Linked DNA regions of Homo sapiens: regions 2, 3 and 4 are each linked to region 1. The links are contacts of gene promoters, found by promoter capture Hi-C in human tissues and cell types (Jung and others, 2019). All regions are on one chromosome and are shown on one strand. The core of a region is centred on a gene start or on the middle of the fragment in contact, and the rest is flanking DNA. Distances in the headings are between cores, read along the strand shown. Region 1 holds the start of NACAD (NAC alpha domain containing). Region 2 overlaps PURB (purine rich element binding protein B). Region 3 holds the start of LOC105375262 (a long non-coding RNA gene). Region 4 has its middle 34 kb from the start of PURB.

Region 1 (7,647 bases), core at 1,385-3,884:
AGGGAAGTGTTGCTGGGAGTCATGAACAGACCTGTCTGGCGGCTTTTCTCAAGGACACCTCAGCAAAGAACTAGCATTTCAGCCTCTCTGGGGAGACTGGATTGCAGTTTCCATTCCACAGAATCAGTGTGGTTCAGCTGGGCTCGGTGGGAGGGGCTGGTGGTGGGAATCTGCCAGGCAGTGCCAGTCCCATCCCATGACCTCCCAATAGATGCGCCACATGAGGCAGGTGGCACCAGCACGACGCGCGCAGCTCGAACACTCTGGGCTTCATGCCTCGCTCTGCCTCCTCTCTCTGCTGTCCTTGCTACCTACACTTGAGGCCAACATGTCAGGGTTTCACCAGGCCCCTCTGACCCTGCTCCCCTCCTGCACCCAGGGAGATGGGGAAGCCAGGGGCCACCACACGCAGCCAAGTTTCTGGAGAACAGAGATGAAGTGTCCCGTGGAGGCTTTGCTGGAGCATCTGGCCACAAGGGCAGTGGTGGGCAGGAACGGAGACCATGGAGCCCAGCAAGAGCACAGGACAGCTTCAGAGGGCCAACAGCAGCCTCTGGCTGAGTCCTCTCCTTGGTGGCAGCCACCCCATGGGTGACCACCAGTTCCTTCCCGGGTGCTGGGAGTTCCCACCCTGCCCTGTGGGCCTTCTCTGGGTCCCATGATGCACTCCCCCAACCCGCTGGGCAGGCTTCAGTATGAGGAGGCTCTGGTACTCAGTAAACGTCTGTGAGCTAACACACCTCCAGCTGAGAAAGGAGTCCATAGGAAGTAGCCCTCATGGGTCAGAAAGGACTTAGGGGACTCAGGAAGATGGAAGAAAACCCCTCCGAGGTTGCGGCACACCAGACCGCTATGGTTTTCTGCCTCCTGGACTCTTACTGGCCTGTATTTTATCACAGGCGAGATCACATTGCACATTCAGTTTTGAATCTAGCTATTTTCACCCAACCTAATCTCATAAGCATTTTCCTGTGTGCTCTAAATGCTCATAAGCTTCATTTTAAATGTCTCCATTATGTCCACTCCCTCACTTGGACCTAGGCCAAAGGCACCTCTGTTTGAAGCATCCAATGAAGGCCCTTCAGAGCCCAGGCCAGGTCTTGCCCAAGGTGGGGGAGCGGCGGCACACAGGGGCCAGCTCTCCAGGCTGCAGATGCCTGCCTGGTGGCTCCTGCTCTCCCGCACTCACTGGTGACCAGGACAACATCTCTTGCACCTCAGCTTTCTCATCTACAAAGCAGAGCCAGGATTAGAGTTGAAGCTGAAAGAAGGGGGACCCTGTTGCCAGGCTGCTCCAGCTCCCCTCAGCAGCATCAGAGCCCTGAGCCCTGAACCACCAGCCAAAACTTGTCACCCAAGGGCTTTGCTGCTGGGGTGATGGGACATCCAGGGGGTCCTGAGACAAGGGGGTCCTTTGGGTTCTTGCATGCCTGACACCCAACATCAGGAGTGGGCGTGGCTGGTGGGGCATCACTGGGTGCCCTGAAGCTGGGCTCTTGGTTCTGGCCCCTGGTGTGGCCCCCAGGGCAGGGGAACGGCTGAGCTGTTGGGATGGAGCAGAAACCAAAGGCCAAAGGTTTTTATAACTCATTCAAGGTCACCAAGCAAGCCAGAACAGAGCCAGCACAAGACCCTGGGGCTGGGAAGTCTGGGCCTGCACTCCCTGCCTCCCACCTAGAGCAGAGGCAGCAGCCTGTGTCACCCCAAACCAGGCCCCAGGCCCCAGCAGTGGTCCCATCTCTGGGTGACTTCTTGCCCACAGCAAGGTGCCCTTGGCCCTACCCACACATGGCTGACCTCCACGCCAGGACTGTCCAGGCTCGGCTCTTTCTAGGCCCCGTAGACCCCATCAGCCTCCACCAGCATTTGTTGACCCAGCCTAAGGACAGGTGGTCTGCACACCCAGGGCCATTGCTAATCAGGCCACCTCCCCCAAGGCCTTCCACCTTCCAGACCCAACTTAGGCTTTATTCCACCACCTGGCCCTCCATCCGGGCTTCCTAGGCTCTGGCCAGTCCTGCTCCTCCCTCCAGAGCCATGACCAGTCGCCGGCCCAGGACAGACCGGGTGCAACTGAGGACCCTCCCGGTGGTCACCTGATCGTACTGGGGGTATCAGCCGGACACCCCGCCTCCAGAACCCGCTGCCTCTGTCCAGAGCGGCCCAGCCCCAGCAGGCTGGCAGCTCGGTGCAAACAACGGGATGCAGCGGGCGGGATGCGAGCCCCACGATCCCTGGGTCGGAAGCCAAGGGCTTAAGCCCCCACGTTCTTTCTGGCTCGCGGCGGGCACTTCGTGCGCCCCACCTTCCCCGCAGTTCTGAGAGAGGCGGTAGCAGGGTTCAGATGGAGGGAAGGACAGGGCGCGGAAAGGGGAGGGGACTCGAGGGGGGCCAGGGGGATGGGGGAGAGGGGTGAAAGGTGAGCGATGGAAAGAGAACCCGGGCTGGAGAGGGGAGAGGCTGAAGGCAGGGAAAGAGTGGCCACGGCCTCACCTGTGCGGGGCCCGGGTCGGTCCGCCTCGGGCAGCAGCAGCTCGGCGCGGGCAGCCTCCCCAGGCATGGCCTGGCCGTGCGCCCGCCCGTCCCTCAGTCCTTCCGACCCTCCGTCAGTCCGTGCCGCCGCCCCGCCGAGCCTGCGCGGCCACCGCCCCTCGGCCGGGCGGTGGGGGCAGTGGGTGACGTCAGGCCGCCCCGCCCGCCTGTCCCAGCGAGTGAGCGTGCGCGGGCTCGCCAGGCACTGCGGAGGGCGTAGGGGGGGCTCCCTCCCCGCCCCCACCCCACCCGGCTGTGGCCTCCCTCTCGCTGTGGGCGGTTTCGTGGGGGAGCGGGGGTGGGCGCCTGCGCCCGGTCCCACCCTTTCCACAGCATTTACGAGGGAGGGTTTCAGGGCCAATTGGAAGCTGGGTTGCCTCAGGGTGGCATTCGCCCGTGGCCAGGAAGAGGCGGGGACGCCCCTAGAACCCTGGTTGTGGGAGGCTGGGGAGGTGGTTGGGATTCTGGGATGCTCGGAGCGCTTTGGGTGGAGTTGGCGGCGCAGCCTCCTTCCCCGCTGACCAAGCAGAGGGTGCAGGGCCTGGGGAGGGAGGGGGCCCCGCCCAGCCCGATGCCTCCATGCAAAAGGTGAGCTGGAGCTGCAGCTCTGGAGTGATTGGCTGGTCCTGGCAGTCGTCGGTCTCCGTGGCAACCGCCTCCTGTCTCCATGGCAACCAGGGATGGAGCCGACGAGAGCGCACCAGGGAAGGCGACCCGGATGGGTCGGTCTCCAGGTCTCTAGGCAACTCGGTGATCTGTCCTATCATCTCCCCTCCACCCCCACACTAGGCAGTAGAAGGAAAAGGAAGAAAGTGTTTCCCTCTATTCCTGGCAGCACCCTCTGCCACACCTCCCAGGAGGAAGCCCGCCCCGTGAATTTCCTGAAATGCCTCTTGCTTTCACACAGGCTACTGCGCCACCCAGATTCACTGAGCACCCCTCCTCCCCCGTGCCAGGCACCAGGGAGACAGATGAATGAGACATTGTCATCACCCCTGACTGGGGTGGGGGGAATCAGAGTAGCCATTGTCACAGGCAGGGAGGGAGGTTTCAACATCCTCAGTCTTCTGTGGGTTCTAACTTTGAGCTCATGAAGCCAGGGGCTGCCCTCTGACTCCCCCAGACCTGCCTCAAGGCTCAGTGCTACACACCTGGCTGCCTGCTGGGCATCTCTCCCCGCTGTACCCCAGGAGTCAGACACACCACACCATTAGAATTAACATCAACTTCAAACAATCTCTTCCAGAAAACAAAAGAGAAGGGGACACTTCCTAACTCATTTTATAAGGCAAGAAATATCCTGATGTCAAAACTAACAATGTGTCGCCAGGCGCGGAGGCTCACGCCTGTAATCCCAGCACTTTGGGAGGCCGAGGCTGGCGGATCACGAGGTCAGGAGATCGAGGCCATTCTGGCTAACGTGGTGAAACCCCGTCTCTACTAAAAATACAGAAAATGAGCCGGGAGTGGTAGCGGGCTCCTGTAGTCCCAGCTACTCAGGAGGCTGAGGCAGGAGAATGGCGTTAACCCGGGAAGCGGAGGTTGCAGTGAGCCGAGATCGCACCACTGCACTCCAGCCTGGGCGACAGAGCGAGACTCCGTCTCAAAAAAAAAAAAAAAAAAAAAAAAACTAACAAAGTGTCAATACACCCCAAGACCCCCAAAACGAAAACTGCAGACCAGCATCTCTCATGAATTCAGGCACAAAAATTCTCAATATTGGCAAATCAAATATAATGATGTATAAAAAAAATACACCATGACCAAGTGGAATTTATTCCACGTATGCAAGGCTGGTTTGACAGTTGAAAATCAATCAACAATACTCCAGAACACCAACAGGCTAAAGAAGAAAAATTTTGGTATCAGTTGACACAGAAAATGTGTTTGACATAACCAACATCATTCATGATTTAAAAAAAAACACTTTCAGCAAGTTAAAAATAAACTTGATAAAGATCTTATATAAAAAACTTATACAGCTAACATCATACTTAATGGTGAAAGACTGAATGCTTTTTAAGATTGGGAACAAGGCAAGGGTGTCCGCACTCACCACTCTTTTCAACATATTATTGGAATTTCTAAACCTTGCAATAAAGCAAGAAGAAATAAAAGGCAGATTGACTTCCAGAATGAAAGCATGGGGAGTTCTGCTGAGCAGCTCCCCAGTGAAACTGGTAAAAATTATTATTATTAATTTTAATTTTTTAATTTGAGATGGAGTCTTGCTCTTTTGACCAGTCTGTAGTGCAGTGGCATGATCTCGGCTCACTGCAACCTCTGTCTTCCGGGTTCAAGCGATCCTACTGTCTCAGCCTCCCGAGCAGCTGGGACTACAGGTCCCACCATGCCTGGCTAATTTTTGTATTTTTAGTAGAGACGGGGTTTCACCCTGTTGGCCAGGCTGGTCTTGAACTCCTGACCTCGTGATCCACCCACCTTGGCCTCCCAAAGTGTTGGAATTACAGGTGTGAGCCACCACACCCAGCCTGGTAAAAATTATTAAAAAAAAAAAAAAACAAACTGAGTTGAAAGGTCAGCAAGCCAGGCGTGGTGGCTCATGCCTGTAATCCCAGCACTTCAGGAGGCTGAGGTGGGCAGATCATGAGGTCAAGAAATCAAGACCTTCCTGGCCAACATGGTGAAACCCTGTCTCTACTAAAAATACAAAAATTAGCCGGGCGTGATGGTGCATGCCTGTAGTCCCAGCTACTCGGGAGGCTGAGGCAGGATAATTGCTTGAACCTGAGAGGCATAGGTTGCAGTGAGCTGAGATCGTGCCACTGCACTCCAGCCTGGTGACAGAGTGAGACTCCGTCTTGGGAAAAAAAAAAAAAAAGAAAGGGCCCAACAAAATAAAAGTGAAAGAGAGAACAAATTAAAGCTTCTGGAAATGGTCTGAAGGGCAAACAGCAAATGAAGAAACATCTGTTCAAGGCTGGATGTGGTGGCTCACGCCTGTAATCCCAGCATTTTGGGAGGCCAAGGTGGGCGGATCACTTGAGATCAGGAGTTCGAGACCAGCCTGGCTAACATGGTGAAAATCCATCTCTACTTAAAAAAAATACAAAAATTAGTTGGGTATGGTGATGCACACCTGTAATCCTACCTACTAGGGAGGCTGAGGCAGGAGAATTGCTTGAACCCTGGAGGCGGAGGTTCGTTGCAGTGAGCCGAGATCCTGCCACTGCACTCCAGCCTGGGTGATGGAGTGAGACTCTGTTTCAAAAAAAAAAAAGAAAGAAACATCTATTCAAGAAAATCTATGAGAATTTAGTAAGAAAGGCGAGAGTCTGTGGTATTTGAATCGAGACAACTCACTCCAGCAAAGGGAGGTGGACTCCACACCAGACTGGTGTTGCCAAGAACACAGGCTTCTTTTCTTCCATCTCCCGGTCAGAGGGCTTTCTTACTGGGAGGACGGAGTACTTCAGCATATCTCATCCTGCTCCCAGCTGCCTGTTGTGGAAGTAAGTCCTGGGTGAGTCTGGTTGAGGTGGGGCTCCCTTCTTCCACTTAGCCCCCACTTGTGGAAAGTGGACTCTACTTCGGGTGTGGCATGCTGAGAATACTGGGGTCCTGACAGCCCTTCTCACCGCTTATGAGGTGAGAGTTCCATGCCAGGAGAGGCTGCTGCCTCCCTTCCACTGACTGCTCAGCTCCTAGAGTGGGAGTGTGACTCAGAAGTTTGCCACTGAGCTAAGAGATTTTGCCTGGAGGGGAGAGGCAGGTTGTAAAACAGATAGCCCATGATCTCTTCCCAGAGGAAATGACCTTACTTGCAAGGCAACATAGGAAGTTTAAACCCAAGGGTATTCTCAACAGCAGTAGAGGTTATGGTGAAAGGCAACTGGAAGGAGATTCATGGATCTAATGAAGATACAGCCTAGGCTGGAGGTTGGCTAGTTTGCAGGAGAAAATGGGGTAATAAGACACCTGGGTGGAGCCCTACTGGGATTAAAGAAAATGTTAAACACTGGCCTCTGAAACTATTCTAGCTAAGAGGCCACAATTTGGATGAGTTTGCAGAGGAATTTCTGCCCAGAGTATTGTCGAAAACAATAGAGCAATCAGTGGAGTTTAGGAGTGGCAATTAGTGGAGTTTAACAGCTGGGCATGGTTAGGAAAAGAGAGTAGGAGAGCCTTACCAGAACCACTCTCATTCCAGGGTGACTGTGGGCATACACATAGCTGCACCTCCCTGAAGAGGACCATCAGAGGCGGAACATTGTAGGGGAGCGCGAAAGACCTCACCAAAAATAATCCAGCTAGTCACTAAGCAAATAAACAAGCAAACAGCAATACAAGCTCCAGAAGGGAGGGGGTTTGGACCTGTACCCAGAGTTGCTATTGGGTTACTGTTCAATTATTTATTTAATGTTATTAAAATGTCCACTTTCCAACAAAAAATTGGCAAAGAAATGAAAGTATGACTTGTATACCAGAAAAATAAAAAAGGCAGGAACAGAACCTGCCTGTGTAAGCAACAAGATTTTAACAGAAAAATATTTCAAAATAACCACTACGAATATGTTCGTAGAATAAGGGAAAGTATGATTAAAGAAGTAATGGAAGGTATATGATGATATTCCATCAAATAGAGAATATCAGCAAAGAGATAGAAATTATTTTTTTAATTAAAAAAAAATTTTTTTTGAGACAGGCTGTCACTCTGTTGCCCCAGCCGGAGTGCGGTGGTGTGATCATGGCTCATTGCAGCCTCCACCTCTGGGGCTCAGGTGATCTTCCCACTTCAGCCTCCTGAATAGTTGAGGTATGTGCCACCACACCCAGCTAATTTTAAAATTTTTTTGTAGAGACGAGGTCTCACCATGTTGCCCAGGCTGGATATAAATTTTTTAAAAATGCAAATTATGGAGTTGAAAAGTAAAATATCTGAAAGAAAAAATTCACAAGAGGGCTGAACAGTAGATTTCAGTGGGCGAAGAAAGAATTAGTGAACTTGATAGAGATTAGAGATTGATGGAGATTATACAAACTGAATAACAGAAAAAAAAGGAAAAATGAACAGAAACTCCAGAGAATGTGAACACTATTAAGCACACCCACATACACATAATGGGAATACCAAAAGGAGAGAAAAGAAAAAGG
Region 2 (7,647 bases), core at 3,149-5,648, 210 kb before region 1:
TTCCTAGATGGGGTGGCGGACGGGCAGAGGCGCTCCTCACTTCCCAGATGGGGGTGGCCAGGCAGAGGCACTCCTCACTTCCCATTCGGGGCAGCCGGGCAGAGGCGCTCCTCACTTCCCAGATGGGGCGGCCGGGCAGAGGCGCTTCTCACATCCCAGATGATCGGCGGCCAGGCAGAGACTCTGCTCACTTCCCAGACGGGGTGGCGGGTGGGCAGAGGCTGTAATCTTAGCACTTTGGGAGGCCAAGGCAGGCGGCTGGGAGGTGGGGGTTGCAGCGAGCCGAGATCACGCCACTGCACTCCAGCCTGGGCAACATTGAGCACTGAGTGAGCGAGACTCCGTCTGCAATCCCAGCACCTCGGGAGGCCGAGGCGGGCAGATCACCCAAGGCCAGGAGCTGGAGACCAGCCTGGTCAACATGGCGAAACCCCGTCTCCACCAAAAATACAAAAACCAGTCAGGAGTGGCGGCGCGTGCCTGGAATGCCAGGCACCCGGCAGGCCCAGGCAGGAGAATCACCGGAGCCCGAGGCAGGGAGGTTGCAGTGAGCCGAGATCATGGCAGTACAGTCCAGGCTCCGCAAGAGAGGGAGACTGTAGAAAGAGGGAGACGGAGAGTGAGAGCGAGAGCGGGAGGGAGAGAGACGGAGAGGGAGAGGGAGAGGGAGAGCTCATTTATGTCTTTACAGAGAATCTATACTGTTCATCTTTGTAAAAATGAGTTGCATTAATTTTGTAATAAAAGAAAGTTTGGAGACTATAACTTCAAAAAAGAAAAGAAATGGCCACCAACTATAAGGGGTACTGAGTAAATGAGGCAAAGGATAGGATGATTTTGAGTGTGAGGACAGTGTAGGGTTGCGTGGAGGAATTCCTGGTACAGTCCTGCATGTGAGAAGGTGGGGAAGTGTGTGTGAGGGTTGAGTCTAGGGCAATCTCTGTGTTACCCACAGGCTTGAGAGACTTAGTCCATTCTCTCCAACCTCTGTTCTACAAACTACCAGTGGATTTGTTGTGTCATCTCAGACACACAGTATAGGAGTAAGAAGTTTGTCCTTTCTATAACAACATGGTGTCATGTCAAGAGAGCTAATTTAGATGTATGTTTGCTGTTGTCATTAACTAGTTTGGAGACCTTAATTAGGTCCACTGAGGGGTCTACATAAGGTACCATGGATGTCTAAGATAAGTTAAACATCTGTCTTGTGTAGGGAGTATTTCCTTTTCTTTTAAATTTAAATGGGGCTGTCTCTTGTAAGGAGCAAATGTCTGGGTCAGGAACGATGTTGCAAATCAAATTATCTATTGCTTGAATGGAGGCCTGGTTAGTAGCTAGGGAGACTAGTTCTTCCTAAAAGCTTTCTCTTCTTTCTCCCGACCCACTAAACTATAAGTCCCATATGAACGACAACCGTATCCTCTACCCTAGTACAATACCTGGAATATAGCAGCTACCCAATAATTAACTGAATGAATTTACAAACGATCTGAGCTAAGAATTGTTATTAAAAGATTTTGGGGCTGGGCGTGGTGGCTTACGCCTGTAATCCCAGCACTTTGGGAGGCTAAGGCAGGTGGATCATGAGGTCAGGAGTTCAAGACCAGCCTGGCCAACTTGGTGAAACCCAGTCTCTACTAAAAATAAAAAGAAAAAATTAGCTGGGCATGGCGGCGGGCGCCTGTAATCCCAGCTACTCAGGAGGCTGAGGCAGAAAATTGCTTGAACCCAGGAGGTGGAGGTTGCAGTGAGCTGAGATCACGCCACTACACTCCAGCCTGGGTGACAGAGTGAGACTATGTCTCAAAAAAAAAAAAAAAAAAAGATTTTGGTACTGAAGGTACTTGCCCAAAATCAGACTGTTAGTTTAGAACAGTCAGGGATAGTCATGACATGAAAAAATACAAAAACTATAAAGGTAATAGCCCTGTTCCTGCAGGCATTTGCTCTAATGCAGCTCTTCAGGCTGTAGCCTGGCTGCATCTATTGTTTAAACTTGTACAGTAACAAACTTCACATGAATCTGAAAAATTCAAACCATCTACAGGGTTTCTAGTGAACCAAACCCAGCCTCAGCAGCACTACAGCAGACTAACTCATCAGGGCAAATACTTCCTGAGACCTGTGTCAGTTGGCAACTAAGCTAATTCTTTCCATAACTTTTGTTGATTTCTGCAGTTAGTCCCCAAGCATGGTCCTCAAATCAGCAGGATCAGCATTATCTGGGAACTTGTTAGAAATGCAACTTAAGGCTGGGCACGGTAGCTCACGCCTATAATCCCAGCACTTTGGGAGGCTGAGGCGGGTGGATCACCTGAGGTCAGGAGTTTGGGACCAGCCTGGCCAACATGGAGAAACCCTGTCTCTACTAAAAATACAAAAATTAGCTGGGCACAGTGGCACGTGCCTGTAATCCCAGCTACTCGGGAGGCTGAGGCAGGAGAATCACTTGAACCTGGGAGGTGGAGGTTGCAGTGAGCCGAGATCGTGCCATTGCACTCCAGCCTGGGCAACAAGAGTGAAACTCTGTCTCAAGGGGAAAAAAAAAAAAAAGAAATGCAACTTAAGTTCCCTCTAGAACTGCTAAATCAGAAACTCAGTAATCCATGTTTTAACCAGCCCTCTAAGTGACTCCGATGCATGCTAAGGGTTCCTCTGTGCTAGTAAAACCCCAGATTTTCCCAGGGAGGGACTACTAATATCAATACTGAAGGATTCCATTTACAAACTTTTCTCAAGATGAGTTATTTTAGAGGTTTAAGTGGTAATTTAGGCACAGTGGTTGGGAGGTGAAAGCCATACATTCAAGGAATGTTCTGCTATACTCTTTTGTTTTCCTCTGGCAGAGATTCCCAACCCTTTTCCCTTCTTTATACCTTAAAATCCCACAGGCCACTGGTTTCACCCCTGACTGTAGGCTAGAATCACCTTGGGGAACTCAAAAAGGCAAAGCATTACCAAAAAACTCCATGTCTGTGTCTCAAAGATTGATTCAGTTGGTCTATGGTGGTGCCTGGGCATCAGTATTCAAAGCTTTCCAGGTGGTTCTGCAGCCAGCATTGAGAACCACTTAAGAGATTGTAGAAATGGACAATCACAGGAAAGTTATGTATGTTGTGTGTTGGGGGGGCTGGGGGCGGTGTAGGCATTTCGTAGCAGGAGCTTCTAATATAAAGAAAATATACGAGAACTAAAGGATTAAGCTATCTATACATAAAAAACCATCCCTCATTTTCAGAAAGGCACTATTTACTTATTAGTCTAGTTAGTGGTTCTCAAGAGTGTGATCCAGAATCCCCTAGGGTTGCCCGAGACTCAGGAGCCCAAGAGGTCAAAACTATGTTCATAAGAACATTCGCATTTTCCACTTTCATTCTTTCATAAATTTACAGTGGAGTTTTCCAGAGGCTATGACATTATCATGTAATTGCTCTGATAGCTGATGGAATGTGTGCTTGTTATTTTTGTCTGGAAAATGTTTCAGCTTCTTGGCCGGCGCGGTGGCTCACGCCTGTAATCCCAACACTTTGGGAGGCTGAGATGGGTAGATCACGAGGTCAGATTAAGACCATCTTGGCCAACATGGTAATACCCTGTCTCTACTGAAATACAAAAAATTAGCCGGGCGTGGTGGCACGTGCCCGTAATCACAACTACTTGGGAGGCTGAGGCAGGGGAATCGCTTGAACCCAGGAGGCGGAGGTTACAGTGAGCTGAGATTGCGCTGCTGTACTCCAGCCTGGCGACAGAGCAAGACTCCGTCTCAAAAAAAAAAAAAAAGTTTCAGCTTCTAAAATGGTATCTACGGATAAAGCCTAGAAAGATAAAACCTCCTTGGGGATATTCAGTAAATTTAATTGTAAAGGGGTTCCTGAGACCAACCTGGCCAGGATAAATGGACACAATTCAGTTTTTTTCTTAAACATTAGGGCAAGAAAAGGCTGCCCTAATTTACCTCCTAAGCAACTACAATGTTGATAAACAATGAATGAAGACTTAGCAGTTTCTTTCAAGCCATTGTAAATGATGGAAGAAATTAAGGGAACCAAGTGGCTGTCTAGGTTATCAACCAAAGCATAAAATTAATTTGCAGTTTTGATTTACTCCACAAATTGCTTACTAGAAAAGGGTTACGGCAACCCAGAAGTTCTAGAACAGGCTATAGTTCAGATGAAATGTGCAATGACTTAAGTCATTTTAAGTGGGAACTCCTGATTCCATACCCATTCGTGAGCCCCAACAGATGGGATTTCCCTCCCCTATCACCACATAATTACTTAGAGACACAAGCACAAGATTGTCATTCACTTTTCTGCATACTTTATTTGTTACAAACATACAATTTTTTTTAAATATAGACTGTAAAACTCCATTTGCAAAAGTCTATTGTAAGGAGTGCACACCAGCAGGAAGGATTCTTACATTTTTTCTCTGTGAGTTTTTCTGTCAGTTTTGCTAGTTAGTGGTAAATACGGGACCCGCCATTTTTACAGACCAGTCTGAAGCTTCTGACTGTATTCACATTGCTCTTTTGAAGCAGCCCTGCTCCTCTCAAAATTGATCAGAATCTGAGCTTCAACCTACAGGCAGTGAGATCAACAGCCCGTCTGGACTCTGCTTTTGAACGGTTTTCAGGAAGTGTGATTTCTGAATGGGTACTGCACTTCACAGATTTGTTTGAATTGCCCATGCAGCTCTATGTTTGTTAAAGTGCATTCTTCTTTAAAAAATAAGAGGAATAATCTTTACTCTTTAACCAAGGTACTTAAAAAAATGAACTTTTTGGTCTCTCAGCAGATATTCCCAAATTGATCCTATCACTACAAATTTTAGTGTTTTATTTACAGACATTTATAGGGTTACAGGTGGAGGGGACCTTATAAAATTAAAGGTGCAGCTTCTCTTGAAGCAGAAATCAGTTCTACAAATTCATACACAGGAATACACACTTGGTTTACAATGCATAAGCATGTGGGTATTTACACAGAGATTGAAGACATCCCCAAAAAACACATTTTAAAGTAATTTCCAACCTAAACTCTAATTGTACATCTAGATCAGGAAGCTGTCTCCTGCTATCAAGATTTGGTTTTAATTCATTCAAATTATTTCTGTAGATTCTCTACTGGCAGGACATCAGTCCCAGCTTTGGAGTGAATAGTCTAAGAAAGCCACTGGTAGATACTATGATTGGCAGTGAAGATTCCTATAGAACGGAAAGTATGTTATCTGGAAACAGAAGACAAATGAATTTTAAAAATGATCTTGGAAAAACATCTGGATGGAGGCCCAAAATAATAAATCCCTACTATAATTGTTTTAGAACTTCAAAAAAAGAAGTCCAGATACACTGACGATCTTAGTTACTATTCAAATATTGGTAAGTCATTGAAAAATAACTCAGATTTACTTGTCTACCGAAACGTGCAAAACCATGGACTCTTTATAAGTACGTCCCATACTGACTTAAAGCCAGTTTCTAGACTTTTTGGTCAACCTACTGACTTTTAGAAATTCAGAGAGTAGGCTAGGCGTGATGGCTCATGCCTGTAATTCCAGCATTTTGGGAAGCTGAGGCGGGCAGATCACTTGAGGTCAGGAGTTCGAGACCAGCCTGGCCAACATGGTGAAACCCCGTCTCTACTAAAAATACAGAAAATTAGCTGGGCATGGTGGCACATGCTTGTAATCCCAGCTACTTGGGAGGCTGAGGCAGGAGAATCGCTTGAGCCCGGGAGGCAAAGGTTGCAGTGAGCTGAGATCAAGCCACTACACTCACTCCAGCCTGGACGATAAGAGCGAAACTCCGTCTCAAAAAAAAAAAAAGAATCCAGAGAGCTTTTGTACACAGGGATGACACATGTGGGCTGGAACAAGGGTTTATGTCTAATATCTTATCAGTTCAAAATGAAACTCCCAAATTCCTACAACACAAATGTGTTTAATGATATAATCCAGTTCTTCAGTTCTCTTGGGACTCTCCCTGCAGTTATGTCTCTGAAAAAGGAATTTTACAAGAGAATAAACAAACCACTCACCATCCTATTTCTAAATATAAAGATTCTTCCAACCAGCCTGATCTTGCAACTCAGAGTTAAGACTGGGGACGAAATATTTGGCTTTAAGAAATAAGAGATGGCCTAAATGGATATTTTGGAAAAAGTTAGCTATTGAAGTGTTATTTAAGGTAAGGGGGAAAAAAGGACAAACTCATGCCTTCTGCAATATCCATCCTAGTGGACACTGAATAGGGCTATTGCTTTCTTTCCAATACTCTGGGCCCACATTTCATCATACTAAAAAGACATAATTAGTTTTCTTACCCATGTCAATGGATATTAGATATAACACAAGGAAAATGAAATTTGCTTCTAGACTCAAAATCTGTTGACACTTAAAGTATAATTATACTTTTTTATTAAACTGTTAGAATCATCTATGGAGAAAAATGAGTTTTAGCTTCCAATAAAGCTCTGCTCTTATTAGAAATCATATTGAGCAGTGAAACTACCAATATGGCAGTTGCTATTCTATTGTTTTAACATGACTCTACCTATCCCAATTGGAATGTCTAATTCAAGAGACATGAGTTAGATTTTCAAATTAAATGACTGTGAATAGAGGTGATTACACTGATGGCATATTCCCTATTTCTTTAGGAAATATAAAATACATTCATAAAGGCCTTACTTGGATCAGGGGTACAGATATCAATTGGGAATCTCTAAGGTAATAAGTTTTCTTGATGCGATTTTATTATTTTTTCATTTTCCAAATCTAATTTTCAGTACTGATAATTGGACAATTTTCAAGTAAGAGTCTGTTAAATCCGTCAGTAATAAAACTGAGTTTTAAGACTGAGGGCTGGGAAAGGAGACTTTAAATAGCAAAGTCAGACATATCAAAAGAAATCATTATTCAAGAGTCCAGCTATCTGCTGAAACTTCTGGGGGGCTAATACTTGAAAATTAAGGACTTTGTTTTTTCTAAGTTAAAAATGGGGGAAATGAAGTTATAATCTGCCATTTCCACCTTACATTTGGAATTTATTTATTTATTTTTTGAGACGGAGTCTTGTTCTGTTACCCAGGCTGGAGTGCAATGGCGCGATCTTGGCTCACTGCAACCTCCGCTTCCTGGGTTCATGCCATTCTCCTGCCTCAGCCTCCCAAGTAGCTGGGACTACAGGCATGCACCACCATGCCCGGCTAATTTTAGTATTTTTAGTAGAGACGGGGTTTCACCATGTTGTCCAGGCTGACCTGAACTGACCCGCCCACCTCAGCCTCCCAGAGTGCTGGGATTACAGGCGTGAGCCACCACGCCCGGCCGCATTTGGAATCTCAAATGGAGCATATGACACATACTTTATTCTTTTTTGTCTGTATTTTCTTAAGGTAAATGTGTTTTTTTTTTTTTCTTTTTTCTTTTCTACAAACTATCTCCCGCCCTCCCCAGCCCCACCCACACACCCATTATCCAGTATACTGAATGGGAGTTGTAACTCTTTAGGAAGACAGCTAATTGATTTACAGTACTCTAAAACCAACCCTGAAAACTGATAATCTCATTCACTTACTATAACTTCAGTGCTGTAGTTGACAGGAAAGAAAAAGTTACCTTAAGGCTCAAGGGAAAGTAACTTAT
Region 3 (7,647 bases), core at 2,334-4,833, 190 kb before region 1:
CTGTCTCAAAAAAAAAAAAAATTACATAGTCTCCCCAGAAGTACATATTAATTACAGAAGGAAAATTAGCAACTCTACAGTGATAAACCTGGCATTCACTGCCTTATCCCAGTGATCACAGTTAACAGCAGCAGAAATGGGACACATGGGCATCATGAACCTCCTGATACGATCACCAAGAAGGACATAGCATCACTTCTTTAGTATTTCCACACAAAATGCAAAACCTGAGTCTCATCAGGAGGAAATAGCAGACAAACTCACATTGGGGGAAATTCCACAAAACCACAGGCTATGAAATAACTACAAAAATGTCAGTGTCATGAAAGAGAAAAACTGAAGAATGGTTTCAGATTAAAGGAAAATTAAGAGAAGTAATGACAGTATGTGTTTGGGCTCTTCTTTGCCATAACAAACATTAAGGTCTGTAAATCAGATAATAACACTGTGTTAATGTTAATTTCCTGATTTTGATAATTGTACTTTGGTTATGTAAGGTAATATCTTTGTTTTTAGGAAATACACACTGAAGTATTTAGAAATGAAAGAGACATAATTGCTGCAATTTACACTCATTCAGAAAAAGGCATACACATTCACAGAGAATGATAAAGCAAACGTGGGAAAGTATTAACAGTTGGAGAATGGTAAAGGGTGTTAAATTAAATATGCTGGCTGGGTGTGGTGGCTCACACCTGTACTCCCAGCACTTTGGGAGGCCGAGGTGGGAGGACCACTTGAGCTCAGGCCAGCCTGGGCAACAGAGTGAGACCTTGTCTCCAAAAAAATTTAAATAAGCAGGAGGCCATTAGCCTGAGGCTGTCTCTGTTTTTTGAATTCCGGCATAATACAATGCAACCTAACTTAGTATATAAAGAAACCAAAACTTAAGAGTATGTTTTTTGTAATAAATAGCCAGATTTCAGCCAATCACAACAGCCAAGCTTCAGCAAATGACAGGCCGCCAACTCATCATACCATGCCCAAATAAGGCAGATGCCTGGCTGTAGCCAATCAAGTGATTTCTTTATTTTTGTGTTCAGCCTATAAAAGCTCACTGTTCACTGCCAGGCAGAGGTCCCTGAACCTCTCCTTTTTTTTTTTTTTTTTTTTTTAAGATGGAGTCTGGCTTTGTCGCCCAGGCTGGAGTGCAGTGGCGTAATCTTGGCTCACTGCAAGCTCCGCCTCCCAGGTTCACTCCATTCTCCTGCCTTAGCCTCCCGAGTAGCTGCGTCTACAGGCGCCCACCACCATGCCTGGCTAATTTTTTGTGCTTTTAGTAGAGGCGGGGTTTCACCGTGTTAGCCAGGATGGCCTCTATCTCCTGACCTTGTGATGTGCCTGCCTCGGCTTCCCAAAGTGCTGAGATTACAGGCATGAGCCACCTCACCCGGCCCTGAACCTCTTCTGATTCTGAGTGCTAATTGATTCAGGAATTGTTATTTACTCAGATAAACTGTTAAACTTGTTTCTAAAGCTTTTTTTTTTAACAAGGATATACAGAAATTCTTTTTATTTTATTTATTTATTTATATATTTTTTTTGAGACGGAGTCTCACTCTGTTGCCCAGGCTGGAGTGCAGTGGTGTGATCTCGGCTCACTGCAACGTCTGCCTCCTGGGTTCAGGTGATTCTCCCGCCTCAGTCTTCCGAGTAGCTGGGATTACAGGCACGCGCCACCACGCCTAGCTAATTTTTGTGTTTGTAGTAGAGACAGAGTTTTGCCATGTTGGCCAGGCTGGTCTTGAACCCCTGAACTCAGGTGATCCTCCAGCCTCAGCCTTCCAAAGTGTTAGGATTATAGGCATGAGCCACCATGCCCAGCCATATACAGAAATTCTTTGTGCTGTTCTTGCAACTTTTCTCAAAGTCTGAAATTATGTAAAAATAAAAAGTAAAAAGAAACCTTCAACTTCTTGAAATGTTTTAAAAATGATTTAAAATAAATTTTGTTAGTGCTCTTTTTCCCATTGTATTCTTTTCGTTTTCACTGTCTAGTTTAGCATGAAATCCTTGTAATTGGTCCCTTGCCTATTTAGAATCTCTATGAAGATCTTCTAAGGGCCTCTGAGCCATGGTGAGTTCTCTCTGGACAGAGACACACAGCCCTCTGGTATACTCTTAAGCATTTACCATGTTCTGCCTTAGGATGCAGCTATTTCTGAAGTCTTCTTTTCCTGCATACTTGCAAACTCCTTAGGGTCAGGGACTATCTCTTATTTTTGTATCTTCGTTGTAAACACTCACTAAATATTTAATGGAATTAAATTGAAAAGTAGTACACAATTTTCAACTTTCCATTCATTAAACATGAAAATGAACGCACATTAGACAATCATAACTGAGTTTCAACAGAACATCCTGATGATGTCACTATGTTTCTTCTCCTATTTAAAAATGTGTTCTTGGCTGGGCGTGGTGGCTCACGCCTGTAATCTCAGCACTTTGGGAGGCTGAGGTGGGCAGGTCACGAGGTCAGGAGTTCGAGACCAGCCTGGTCGACATTGCAAAACCCCGTTTTTACTACAAATACAAAAATTAGCTGGGCATGGTGGTGGGCGCCTGTAATCCCAGCTACTCGGGAGGCTGAGGCAGGAGAATCGCTTGAACCTGGGAGGCAGAGGTTGCAGTGAGCCAAGATCGTGCCACTGCACTCCAGCCTGGGCAACAAAAGCAAGACTCCATCTCAAAAAAAATAAATAAATAAAAAATAAAAAATAAAAATGTGTTCTCCTTTGACAAATATGCTTTTATTGTAGAAAATTTTGAAATTTCAGAAAAGAAACAAAATAAGAACATGTAAATGATTCAGAATGCTGCGTGCTACACAGAGATATTAGTGTCTAGCCTTCTGAGTTTTTCCTATGCAAAATTTTAAATGCAAATTTACACATATATGGGTGTATAAATATATATATGTATATATATTTGTATTACATAACTAAGATCCAACCATGCATACTGATGTGTAACATGAAATTTTTATTTTATGCACAGGATTAGACTGATCAAAATCTTTGGTTCATGATACACTCTCATTGTTAATCCATTTATTCATTCATTCATTTGCTAATAATGTTTTCATAAAACTTCTTGAATTACCAGCCAACTCAAGAACTAGAACACTGACAATAATTCAAATCTACTATATGTCTTCCTTCCATATTTTATTCTTCCCCCACCTCTCAGGTGGCCAAAATCCTAAATTATTTTTAAAAAATCATTTAGTTTTATTTTTTAAACATTATAAAAAGAGAATCATATTATACATTGTATTAGTCAGCGTTCTCAAGAGAAGCAGAACCAATAGGATATCTATCCATCTGCCTTTTTTTTTTTTTTTTGAGATGGAGTCTCACTCTGTCACCCAGGCTGGAGTGCAATGGTGCAATCTTGGCTCACTGCAACGTCCACCTCCCAGGCTCAAGAGATTCTCCTGCCTTAGCCTCCTGGGTAGCTGGGATTACAGGCGCACACCACCACGCCTGGCTAGTTTTTGTATTTTTAGTAGAGACAGGGTTTCATCATGTTGGCCAGGCTGGTCTCGAACTTCTGACGTCAGGTGATCCACCAGCCTTGGCCTCCCAGAGTGCTGGGATTACAAGTGTGAACCACCGAGCTGGGTGTCCATCTGCCTATCCATCTATGTATCTATCTGGGAGATTTCAGTAAAGAATTGGCTCACAGGCCGGGCACAGTGGCTCATGCCTGTAATCCCAGCACTTTGGGAGGCCAAGATGAGTGGATCACTGGAGGTCAGGAGTTCGAGACCAGCCTGACCAACATAGTGAAACCCCATCTCTACCAAAAATACAAAATTAGCTGGGTGTGGTGGCGCATGTCTGTAATCCCAGCTACTTGGGAGGCTGGGGCAGGAGAATCACTTGAACCCTGGAGGCAGAGGTTGCAGTGAGTGAAGATCACGCCATTGCACTCCAGCCTGGGCAATAAGAGCGAAACTCCATCTCAAAAAAAAAAAAAAAAAAGAATTGGCTCACATGATTATAGGGGCTGACAAGCCCCAAATGTGCAGGACGGATTGTTGGGCTGGAGATGCAGGGAAGAGTTGATGTTAGATGTTGCAGCTTGAGTCTGAAGGCCTTCTTGAGGCAGAATTCCCTCTTTGGGAACTTCAGTCTTTTCTCTTAAGGCCTACAACTGATTGGATGAGGCCCACGCAATATGGAGGCTCATTTGTTTTCCTCAAATGCTACTGACTTAAATGTTAATTCATCTAAAAAATACTTTCACAGTAACAAGACTAGCGTCTGACCAAAAACTGGGTGCCATGGCTCAGCCAAGTTGATGCATAAAATTAACCATTACATATGCTTGATGGACTTGATTTTTTTCACTCCACATTATGGTTTAAAAGTTTACCCATGCTTTTTGTGTTTAGCTAAAGTTAATTAATGTTCACCACTGTATACTATTTCTTTTCTTTTTTTTATTTTTTAGACAGAGTCTCACTTTGTTGCCCAGGCTGAGTGCAGTGGCGTGATCTCGGCTTACTGCAACCCCCGCCTCCTGGGTTGTATATTATTTCATCATGAGCAAATATCACCACCATATCATCTGCCCATGGGCATAGGGTTGTGAATGTTCTCACTCAGTGGAACTTGTCTCCTGCGGCAGATGTGTGGGGCTTGTCATAGGTACGCACCTGAGAGTGGTTTTCTGAGTTGTCAGGCATGTGAATTTCAGAGTTTGTGAGAAAATGCCCAGTGGTTTTCCCATATCATTATAACTTTTCACTTCCCTCATGTATATATAAGTGATGTCTTTAATCCAGAACCTTTTCAGCTCTTGGCATTGTCAGATTTTTAATTATTGCCAGTGGAATGAATGAAAAGTACTATCTCTTATCTTGGTTTACATTTCCCTGATTACTGAGGAGGCCAAGCATCCCTCTGAGTGCCTGTTGGCTGTATGTGTTCCCCCTTTGGTGAAATGCCTCTTCATGTCTTTTGCCCATTTAAAAAAATAGGGCTAGGAATTCTGTACCTGTTCTTTTTTTTTTGAGTCGGAGTCTCGCTCTGTCGCCCAGGCTGGAGTGCAGTGGCGCGATCTTGGCTCACTGCAACCTCCGCCTCTGGGGTTCAAGCAATCCTCCTGCCTCAGCCTCCCGAGCAGCTGGGACTACAGGCACCCACTACCACGCGCGGCTAATTTTTTGTATTTTTAGTAGAGATGGGGTTTCACCATGTTAGCCAGGATGGTCTCGATCTGCTGACCTCGTGATCCACCCACCTTAGCCTCCCGAAGAGCTGGGATTACAGGCATGAGCCACTGTGCCCGGCCACATGTTCTTTAAATATTTTTTTAATTAAAAGTTTGTTGGCTGGGCGTGGTGCTCATGCCTGTAATCCCAGCACTTTGGGAGGCCAAGGCGGATGGATCACCTGAGGTCAGGAGTTCGAGACCAGCCTGACCAACATGGAGAAACTCCGCCTCTACTAAAAATACAAAATTAGCCGGGCATAGGGGCACATGCCTGTAATCCAAGCTACTAGGGAGGCTGAGGCAGGAGAATTGCTTGAACCTGGGAGGTAGAGGTTGCGGTGAGCCGAGATCGTGCCATTGCACTCCAGCCTGGGCAACAAGAGCAAAACTCCGTCTCAAAAAAAAAATTTTGTTTTGTTTTGTTTTGTTTTGTTTGAGACAGAGCCTCCCTCTGTCACCCAGGCTGGAGTGCAATAGTGCGATCTCAGCTCACTGCAACCTCTGCCTCCTGGGTTCAAATGAATCTCTTGCCTCAGCCTCCCAAGTAGTTGGGATTATAGGCATGCGCCACCATGCCCGACTGATTTTTGTATTTTTAATAGAGACGGGGTTCCGCTGTGTTGACCGGGCTGGTCTCAAACTCTTGGCCTCAAGTGATCCAACTGCCTCTAATTTTTAATTTTTTGAGGACAGAGTTTTACTCCGTCACCCAGGCTGGAGTGCAGTGGTGTAATTACAGCACTGCAGCCTTGAACTCCTGGGCTCAAGTGATCTTCCTGCCTTAGCCTCCTGAGTAGTTGGGACTACATGCATGTGTCACCATGCCTGGCTAATTTTTATTTTTATTTTTAAATTAAATTAAATTTTATTTTATTTTGAGACAGAGTATTGCTTTGTCGCCCAGGCTAGAGTGCAGTGGTGCGATCTCGGCTCACTGCAACTTCCACCTCCTGGGTTCAAGTGATTCTCCTGCCTCAGCCTCCTGAGTAGCTGGGATTACAGGTGCCCACCACCACACCCAGCTAATTTTTGTATTTTTAGTAGAGATGGGGTTTTACCATGTTGGTCAGGCTGGTCTGGAACTCCCGACCTCAGGTGATCCACCCACCTTGGCCTCCCATAGTGCTGGGATTACAGACGTGAGCCACCATGCCCAAGCCTAATTTTTATTTTTTAATTTTTTGTAGAGACAAGGTGCCCAGTTGCCCAGGTTGGTCTTGAACTCCTGGACTCAAGTGATCCTCCTGCCTTGGCCTCCCAAAGTGTTAGGATTACAGGTGTGGGCCACCTCACCCTGCCTGTACCTGTTATTAGTGCAATCATTTGTTGATTATGTCTTCTCTTATTTGTAGCTTATCTTTTATTTCCTTTAGACTATTATTTAAAAACATTCTTTAAACATTTTTTAATTGTAGTAAGAACACAATGTATCTACCCTCTTAACAGATTTTTAAGTGCATAATACTGTATTGTTAACTATAGGGAAAATGTACAGAAGATCTCTAGGGCTTTATATGCATTGATTAGCAATTCCCCTTTTTCCCCTGCCCCTAGCCCCTGGTAACCACATTGTAATGGCTTATTTCACTTAGCATAATGTTCTCAAGGTTCATCCGTGTTGCTGCATATTGTAGAATTTCCTTTCTTTTTAATATGTCATTGGATTTACACACCACATTTCCTTTGTCCTTTCATCCATCAATGGACATTTAGGTTATTTCCACAGCTTAGCGATTGTGACTAGTATTGCTATGAACAGTGAGTGCAGACATCTCTTCAAGATCCTGATTTCAATTCTTTTGGATAAATACCCAGCAGTGGGATTGCCAGATCATATGGTAGTTCTGTTTTTAATTTTTTGAGGAGAGGTCAAAGCAGGTGTATCTCTTGAGCCTGGGAGTTCAAGACCAGCCTGGGCAACATGGCAAAACTCCGACTCTACAAAAAATACATGCACACCTGTAGTCTCAGCTACTTGGGGGGCTGAGATGGGACGGTCAGTTGAGGCCAGGAATTCGAGACCAGCCTGGGCAACATGGTGAAACTCTGTCTCTACTAAAAATACAAAAATTAGTCTTGGCAGGTGCCTATAATCCCAGCTACTGGGAGGCTGAGGTGGGAGGATCACTTGAGCCCAGGAGGCAGAGGTTGCAGTGAGCAGAGATCATGTCATTGCACTCCAGCTTGGACGACAGAGCGAGACTCTGCTTAAAAAAAAAAAAATTTTTTTTTGAGGAACCAAACCTCCATACTGTTTCTATAGAAACTGCATGAGGCTCTTCAGGATATTCTTAATAACAGCCTATTAATTTACCAATATATCACAAAGGATGTACAGTGTATCACTGAATTCCCGGTTCTCGTCTCAGAATCACCCAGTGAATCTGTCACATTCTGATTTAATTACCTGGGATGAAGCTGGGG
Region 4 (6,881 bases), core at 2,138-4,637, 170 kb before region 1:
TGATCCGCCCGCCTCGGCCTCCCAAAGTGCTGGGATTACAGGCGTGAGCCACTGCGCCCGGCCTCTTTTTTTTTTTTTTTTTTGAGACCTCAGAGTCTCACTCTGTCACCCAGGCTGGAGTGCAGTGGCACGATCTCGGCTCACTGCAGCCTCGGCCTCCCGAGTTGAAGTGATTCTCCTGCCTCAACCTACCAAGTAGCTGGGACTACAGGCACCCACCACCACGTGCGTCTAATTTTTTGTATTTTTAGTAGAGACGAGGTTTCACCGTGTTAGCCAGGATGGTCTCAATCTCCTGACCTTGTGATCTGCCCGCCTCGGCCTCCCAAAGTGCTGGGATTACAGGTGTGAGCCACAGTGCCTGGCTTTTTTTTTTTTTTTTTTTTTTTTTTTTTTTTGAGACCTAGTCTTGCTCTGTCACCCAGGCTGGAGTGCAGTGGCGTGATCTTGGCTCACTGCAACCTCTGCCTCCCGGGTTCACACCATTCTGCTGCCTCAGCCTCCCGAGTAGCTGGGACTACAGGGGCACGCCACCATGCCCAGCTAATTTTTTGTATTTTTAGTAGAGACGGGGTTTCACCGTGTTAGCCAGGATGGTCTGGATCTCCTGACCTCGTGATCGGCCCGCCTCGGCCTCCCAAAGTGCTGGGATTACAGGCGTGAGCCACCATGCCTGACCTGAAGTCATTTCTAAGTATGGTGTTGGGTAAGTTCTACCCTTAGGTTCAAATACTCAGACTGGGTCACATGAAGAAAGAGAACAACATGAGAGTTATTTATTTGGCCTCCCACTGAGTAAGGCATTCTGTTAGGTCATTAGTGTTTATAAGCCAAGTGTGGCATTCTGGAAAGGTAAATAGGCATTTAGTAGGAGATAAGAAAAAAGTATCCCTGCTACCTTTTTTTTTTTTAGAGATAGGGTCTCACTGTGTTGCCCAGGCTGAAGTGCGGTGGCACCATCACAGCTTACTGCAGCCTCAAACTCCTAGGCTCAAGAGATCCTCCCACCTCAGCCTCCCAAGTAGCTGAGACTACAGGAATATGCCACCACACCCAGCTAATTTTAGTTATTTATTTATCATTATTATTATTATTATTTTTGAGATGGGCTCTTGCCCTGTCACCTAGGCTGGAGTGCAGCAGCACAATCATAGCTCACTGCAGCCTTGCACTCCTTGCCTCAAGCAATCGTCCTGCCTCAGCCTCCCAAGTAGCTGGAACTATAGGCACAGGCCACCATGCCCAGCTAATTAAAAAAAAAATTTTTTTTTCTGTAGAGACAGGGTCTGGCTATGTTGATCAGGCCTATCTCTAACTCCTGGCCTCAAGTGATCCTCCTGCCTCAGCCTCCCCAAGTGCCGGGATTATAGGCACAAGCCACTGTACCTGGCCAGAGACAAGTTCACAAACATTCTGAGGGTTCAGAGGGACAGGCTACTTCCAAATGTCTGGATTTTTTTTAAAGTTATGTAAACTATTTTATTTTTAAACTATATTGAAGTGTTTCAGAAGAAAAAAATGACCGTATTTAATTAGTCACTGATACGTAATTAGTTGTATTTTCCTTTGGGACAACATAGAATTTGTTTATTCTTCAATGGCTTCATATTTACAAAATACCAGTAAAAATAGTAAGGAAAGGGTTCAATCCACATAGACCATCACATACAGAATAACTAGCTGATTATTTATCTTCCAGAAATCTGGTAAGCACTGGTTTCTAAAACACAGGATATGCCAAATTCTGGTTACTAGCATCTTCATTCTTTATTGGATACATTTCTTTTGTTTAATCAATACATATTTGTACATATTTATGGGGTACATGTGATATTTTGTTACATGTATAGAATGGAATACTATTCAGCCATAAAAAAGAATGAAATCCTGTCCTTTGCAGCAACATGGATGGAAATGGAGATCATTATGTTAAGTGAAATATGCTAGGCATGGAAAGACATATATCACATGTCCTTTTTTTCATCCTCTCATTATTGAACATATCACATGTTCTTACTCATATGTGGGAGCTAGAAAAGTTGATCTCAGGCCAAGCACAGTGGCTCACACCTGTAATCCCAGCACTTGGGGGGCCCGAGGTGGACGGATCACTTGAGGTCAGGAGTTTGAGACCAACCTGGCCATATGGTGAAGCCCTGTTTTTACTAAAAATACAAAAATTAGCTGGGCGTGGTGGTGTGTGCCTGTAATCCCAGCTACTTGGGAGGCTGAGGCAGGAGAATCACTGGAACCTGGTAGGCGGAGGTTGCAGTGAGCCAAGATCGCACCACTGCACTGCAGCCTGGGCTACAGAGTGAGACTGTCTCCAAAAAAAGAAAAAAAAATTGACTGGGCGTGGTGGCTCACGCCTATAATTTCAGCACTTTGAGAGGCCGAGGTGGGCAGACCACTTGAGGTCAGGAGTTTGAGACCAACCTGGCCAACATGGTGAGACCCTGTTTCTACTAAAAATACAAAAATTAGCTGGGCGTGGTGGTACATGCCTGTAATCCCAGCTACTCAGGAGGCTGAGGAAGGAGAATCGCTTGAACCTGGGAGGCAGAAGTTGTGGTGAGCTGAGATTGCACCACTGCACTCCAGCCTGGGCAACAAGAGTGAAACTCCATCTCAAAAAAAAAAAGTGGATCCCATAGAAGTAGAGAGTAGAATGATAGATAGTAGAGACTGGGAAAGGGGTGTCAGTGGGAGGGGGGAAGAACACGTTGGTTAATGGGTACGAACATACAGTTAGAAGGAAAAAGATCTAGTCACAGTAAGGTGGCTATAGTTAACAACAATGTTTTGTTTATTTCAACGTAGGTAGAAGAGAGAACTTGAAATGTTTCCAACACATAGAAATGATAAATGCTTAGGGCAATGGATATCCTAAATACTCTGACTTGATCATTACATGTTCTATGCAGATGTCTGGGTTTTATTCTGATGGAGATGCCACTGGAGGTATTTCAGGCATTTGCACAGAAGTATCCCCCCACCATACCCCCTTTCAGAGCTGCACTTTAGAAAGATTGATCTAACAGGAATATGCAAAGTTAAGTAGAAAACAGAGAAACCAGAAGCAGTTAAGAAAGTGTCCTAAGAATTCACGGAGTGGAAAATCACCTAGATGTCTTTTATGGGAGGCGTATCCTGGGGAGCATCTGGAGAATCTAGGAGGAGCACCCTTGAGGACCACTCAGGAAGCACTCAAGAGGAACATCTACAGCTGGCTGGAAATCGCAGGGAGCATCTTTTTGCAGACTCAGTATGTGATTTGAGCAGGAGTGCTGTAGGAGAAATTGAAGGAGAAACCTCTCTAGCATCACATACATAACACCTTTCCCCTGTGGAAGGAGCCAGTCTTCCAGAGGCCCCACTTATGATATGGCAAAGCCAAAATTCTCATGGAGGACATCTGGTATCATGAGGATCCCATTGGAGCAAAATTCTTTTTTTTTTTTTTAGATGAAGTTTTGCTCTTTTTGCCCAGGCTGGAGTACAATGGCATGATCTCGGCTCACTGCAACCTTCGCCTCCTGATTTCAAGTGATTCTCCTGCCTCAGCCTCCCGAGTAGCTGGGATTACACCAGCTACTTACGCCACCACACCCAGCTAATTTTTGTATTTTAAGTAGAGACGGGGTTTTGTCATGTTGGCCAGGCTGGTCTCGAACTCCTGACCTCCGGTGATCCACCTGCCCTGGCCTCCCAAAGAGCTGGGATTACAGGCATAAGCCATCGCGCCCAGCCCATTGGAGCAAAATTCTATTCAGCCTACAAATCTGGTCAAAAGCTTTTGATCTGTTCAATCCAAGCTTCAAGCCTACCTGTCAATGCTTTGTGAAGTATATTGAGCTGCAGAAACTTAAAGAAACAGATGAAGAGAAGTTATTTGTAGAAACAAGGAAAGCTTTATTGGCAGAAAGTGTCATTTTAAGATGCGTAGGAGAAACAAGGACTCAACAGGAAGGTAGTCACGTTTCCTGGAAATCTGAACACATGATTGTCAGACCCCAAACTGTGTTGAAAGAAAACCAGCCTCAGAAAGAAAGAAGTTCCACAGGACCAGCATTTGGAAGCACCTGAAGGACAGTTAAAAGGTCTTGCAGCTCCGTGAAGGGTTTGTATATTGTGGATACTGACATACACACTCTACTCACTAGCTCAATGTTGAGCTGTTTCTAACAGTTGAACTACATAAACGTCTCTTGATCTTGAAGGCATTATATTTGCCTTCTCTTAGTCCTTACTTCTGAGTTGTCATAAAGCTCGGTATCATGGTTTGACAGAAGCAGTTATGATCCAGAGGATTTATATAAAAGAATAATAAAAACTGAAAAAAAAAGGAGTTATGTGAACTTTCATGGTAGGACATCATTAAATAAAGAACTCCAGCTGGGCGTGGTAGCTCATACCTGTAATCCCAGCACTTTGGGAGGCCCAGGCGGACAGATCACTTGAGGTCAGGAGTTTTGAGACCAGCCTGGCCAAGATGGTGAAACCCTGTCTCTACTAAAAATACAAAAAAATGGCCGGGTGTGGTGGCTCATGCCTGTAATCCCAGCACTTTGGGAGGCCGAGGTGGGTGGATCACCTGAGGTCAGGAGTTTGAAACCAGCCTGGCCAACATGGTGAAACCCCTTCTCTACTAAAAATACAAAAAAATGGCATGGTGCGGTGGCTCATGCCTATAATCCCAGCACTTTGGGAGGCCAAGGCGGGTGGATCACTTGAAGTCAGGAGTTTGAAACCAGCATGGCCAACATGGTGAAACCCCTTCTCTACTAAAAATACCAAAAATTAGCTGGGCATATTGGTGGGCGCCTGTAATCCCAGCTGCTCAGGAGACTGAGACAGGAGAATCGCTTGAACCTGGAAGTCGGAGGTTGCAGTGAGCTGAGATCGCACCATTGCACTCCAGACTGGGCAACAAGAGCGAAACTCTGTCTCAAAAAAAAAAAAAAAAAAAAGCAAAAGCAAAACAAAACAAAAAAATTAGCCAGGCGTAGTGGCACATGCCTGTAATCCCAGCGATTCTGGAGGTTGAGGCAGGAGAATCACTTGAACCTGGGAGGCAGCAGTTGCAGTGACCTGAGATCATGCCACTGCTTTCCAGCATGGACAGCAGAGCAAGACTCCATCTATAAGTAAATAAATAAATAAAATTCCCTAGGTGCTTAAAAACAAAGGAAGAGGAAAAAAAAGGAGGTGCATCTAACATCTAGGAAGAGCACCTGGGGGAGCACCTACTGGGAGCACCTGAAGGAGCAACTCAAGGGCCACTGGCAGGAACCTCCGGGAAGCGCAGAAGGCATGTGTGGGGAGAGATTGGTGGGGGTTGGGTGTTCTTACCTACTGAATGGGCGGGCTAGATCAAGAGGTGACAACCTGGAAGAGAAATGGGGCTAGAGACAGGCTGGCTGTAAACCAGTGGTTGTCGAGGAGATAGCATCAGTGAGGGAGGTGCCCCAGTGGGAGAGCCGCCCTGAAAAGGGAGGAGGGTGTCTCTCCACTGTTGAGCCAGAGCCACAAAGAGGGTTGACTCTGCCATAGAGCGGCCTTTCTTCCCAGCTATTATGTCGGCTCTGCAGGGACCCTCACACTTGATGAGTCAAGGGGCTTGTGCCTTACTGAGCAGCCAGAGGGATCCCTCTCTGAGACCCTCAGACCTGCTCCTTGCCTGACCAGTGCCAGCCCTCCTCCCCTTCCTCACCAGGGGATGGCTGAAGCATGGAAAAGTGGCCGGCAGCAGATGGTTGGGGGTGGTGGTGGGGGGCATGGGGACTCAACGCCCTGGGTTGCTGAGTCCTGTGAGACCTGTGGCCCCGGGACACCCCACCCCAGGCCTGGGCTCTCAGCAAGAATGCCATGTGGAGCCTGTCAACTAGCCCGTCAACTAGCACTCTCGCGCCCCCTGGTGGCCGTCCCTGATGAGGTGGGTATAGGACATGGTCCCAGTGAGAACTTGTGGCAATCCACAGTTCATGCCTACGTTCATTCATTCATTCATTCTTGAAATATTTGGGGAGTACCTGCAGGCCTCCGAAGCTCTATGCTGTCCACTCTGGCACCCACACGTGCTCTGAGCACTTGAAGTGCAGCGAGTCCACTGGAGAAGTACAGTAAGTGTAAAGAGTACACTGGCCGTCAAAGACATAGTGCACACAATGTAAAATGTAGTATCGATCATTTTCATATTGATGATACATTGAAATTATAATGTTTTAGATCAACCATTTTAAATAAAATATGATTACAATCAATTTCACCTGTTTCTTTTTTACCGAGACCAGCTGGGTCGGGGAGACCCTAACCTAGTGGTGCTAGAGGAATTAAAGACACACACACAGAAATATAGAGGTGTAAAGTGGGAAATCAGGGGTCTCACAGCCTTCAGAGCTGAGAGCCCCGAACAGAGATTTACCCACATATTTATTTTTTTTTTTTTTTTTTTTTTTTGAGACGGAGTCTCGCTCTGTCACCCAGGCCGGACTGCGGACTGCAGTGGCGCAATCTCGGCTCACTGCAAGCTCCGCCTCCCGGGTTCACGCCATTCTCCTGCCTCAGCCTCCCGAGTAGCTGGGACTACAGGCGCCCGCCACCGCGCCCGGCTAATTTTTTGTATTTTTAGTAGAGACGGGGTTTCACCTTGTTAGCCAGGATGGTCTCGATCTCCTGACCTCATGATCCACCCGCCTCGGCCTCCCAAAGTGCTGGGATTACAGGCGTGAGCCACCGCGCCCGGCCTACCCACATATTTATTAACAGCAAACCAGTCATTAGCATTGTTTCTATAGATATTAAATTAACTAAAAGTATCCCTTATGGGAAACGAAGGGATGGGCCAAATTAAAGGAATAGGTTGGGCTAGTTAACTGCAA

Evidence for each region. The method cuts DNA at HindIII sites, captures the fragments that hold promoters and counts their contacts. A contact is called where the count stands out against the background at its distance.
Region 2: a fragment that was not itself captured here is called in contact with the fragment with the promoter of NACAD in region 1 in 1 of the 25 tissues and cell types used here (spleen).
Region 3: a contact is called between a fragment that was not itself captured here and the fragment with the promoter of NACAD in region 1, in 1 of the 25 tissues and cell types used here (dorsolateral prefrontal cortex).
Region 4: a fragment that was not itself captured here is called in contact with the fragment with the promoter of NACAD in region 1 in 1 of the 25 tissues and cell types used here (aorta).

The regions. Positions count from the first base shown.
Region 1 is chr7:45,086,335-45,093,981 of GRCh38, forward strand. NACAD (NAC alpha domain containing) reads right to left here and starts at 2,635. Exons shown (of 8, transcript NM_001146334.2): 1 at 2,494-2,635. The coding sequence starts at 2,560. The HindIII fragment of the contact is 12,529 bases long and covers 1-7,647 here.
Region 2 is chr7:44,871,996-44,879,642 of GRCh38, forward strand. It overlaps PURB (purine rich element binding protein B), which reads right to left. Exons shown (of 1, transcript NM_033224.5): 1 at 4,304-7,647. Among named protein-coding and RNA genes, the nearest start is that of MIR4657, 6.0 kb to the right of the region's middle. RefSeq lists a silencer at 5,675-5,969. The HindIII fragment of the contact is 4,404 bases long and covers 2,197-6,600 here.
Region 3 is chr7:44,897,271-44,904,917 of GRCh38, forward strand. LOC105375262 (a long non-coding RNA gene) reads left to right here and starts at 7,431. Exons shown (of 2, transcript XR_927228.2): 1 at 7,431-7,647. The HindIII fragment of the contact is 4,747 bases long and covers 1,211-5,957 here.
Region 4 is chr7:44,916,373-44,923,253 of GRCh38, forward strand. It overlaps the pseudogene MRPS23P1. Among named protein-coding and RNA genes, the nearest start is that of PURB, 34 kb to the left of the region's middle. The HindIII fragment of the contact is 4,290 bases long and covers 1,243-5,532 here.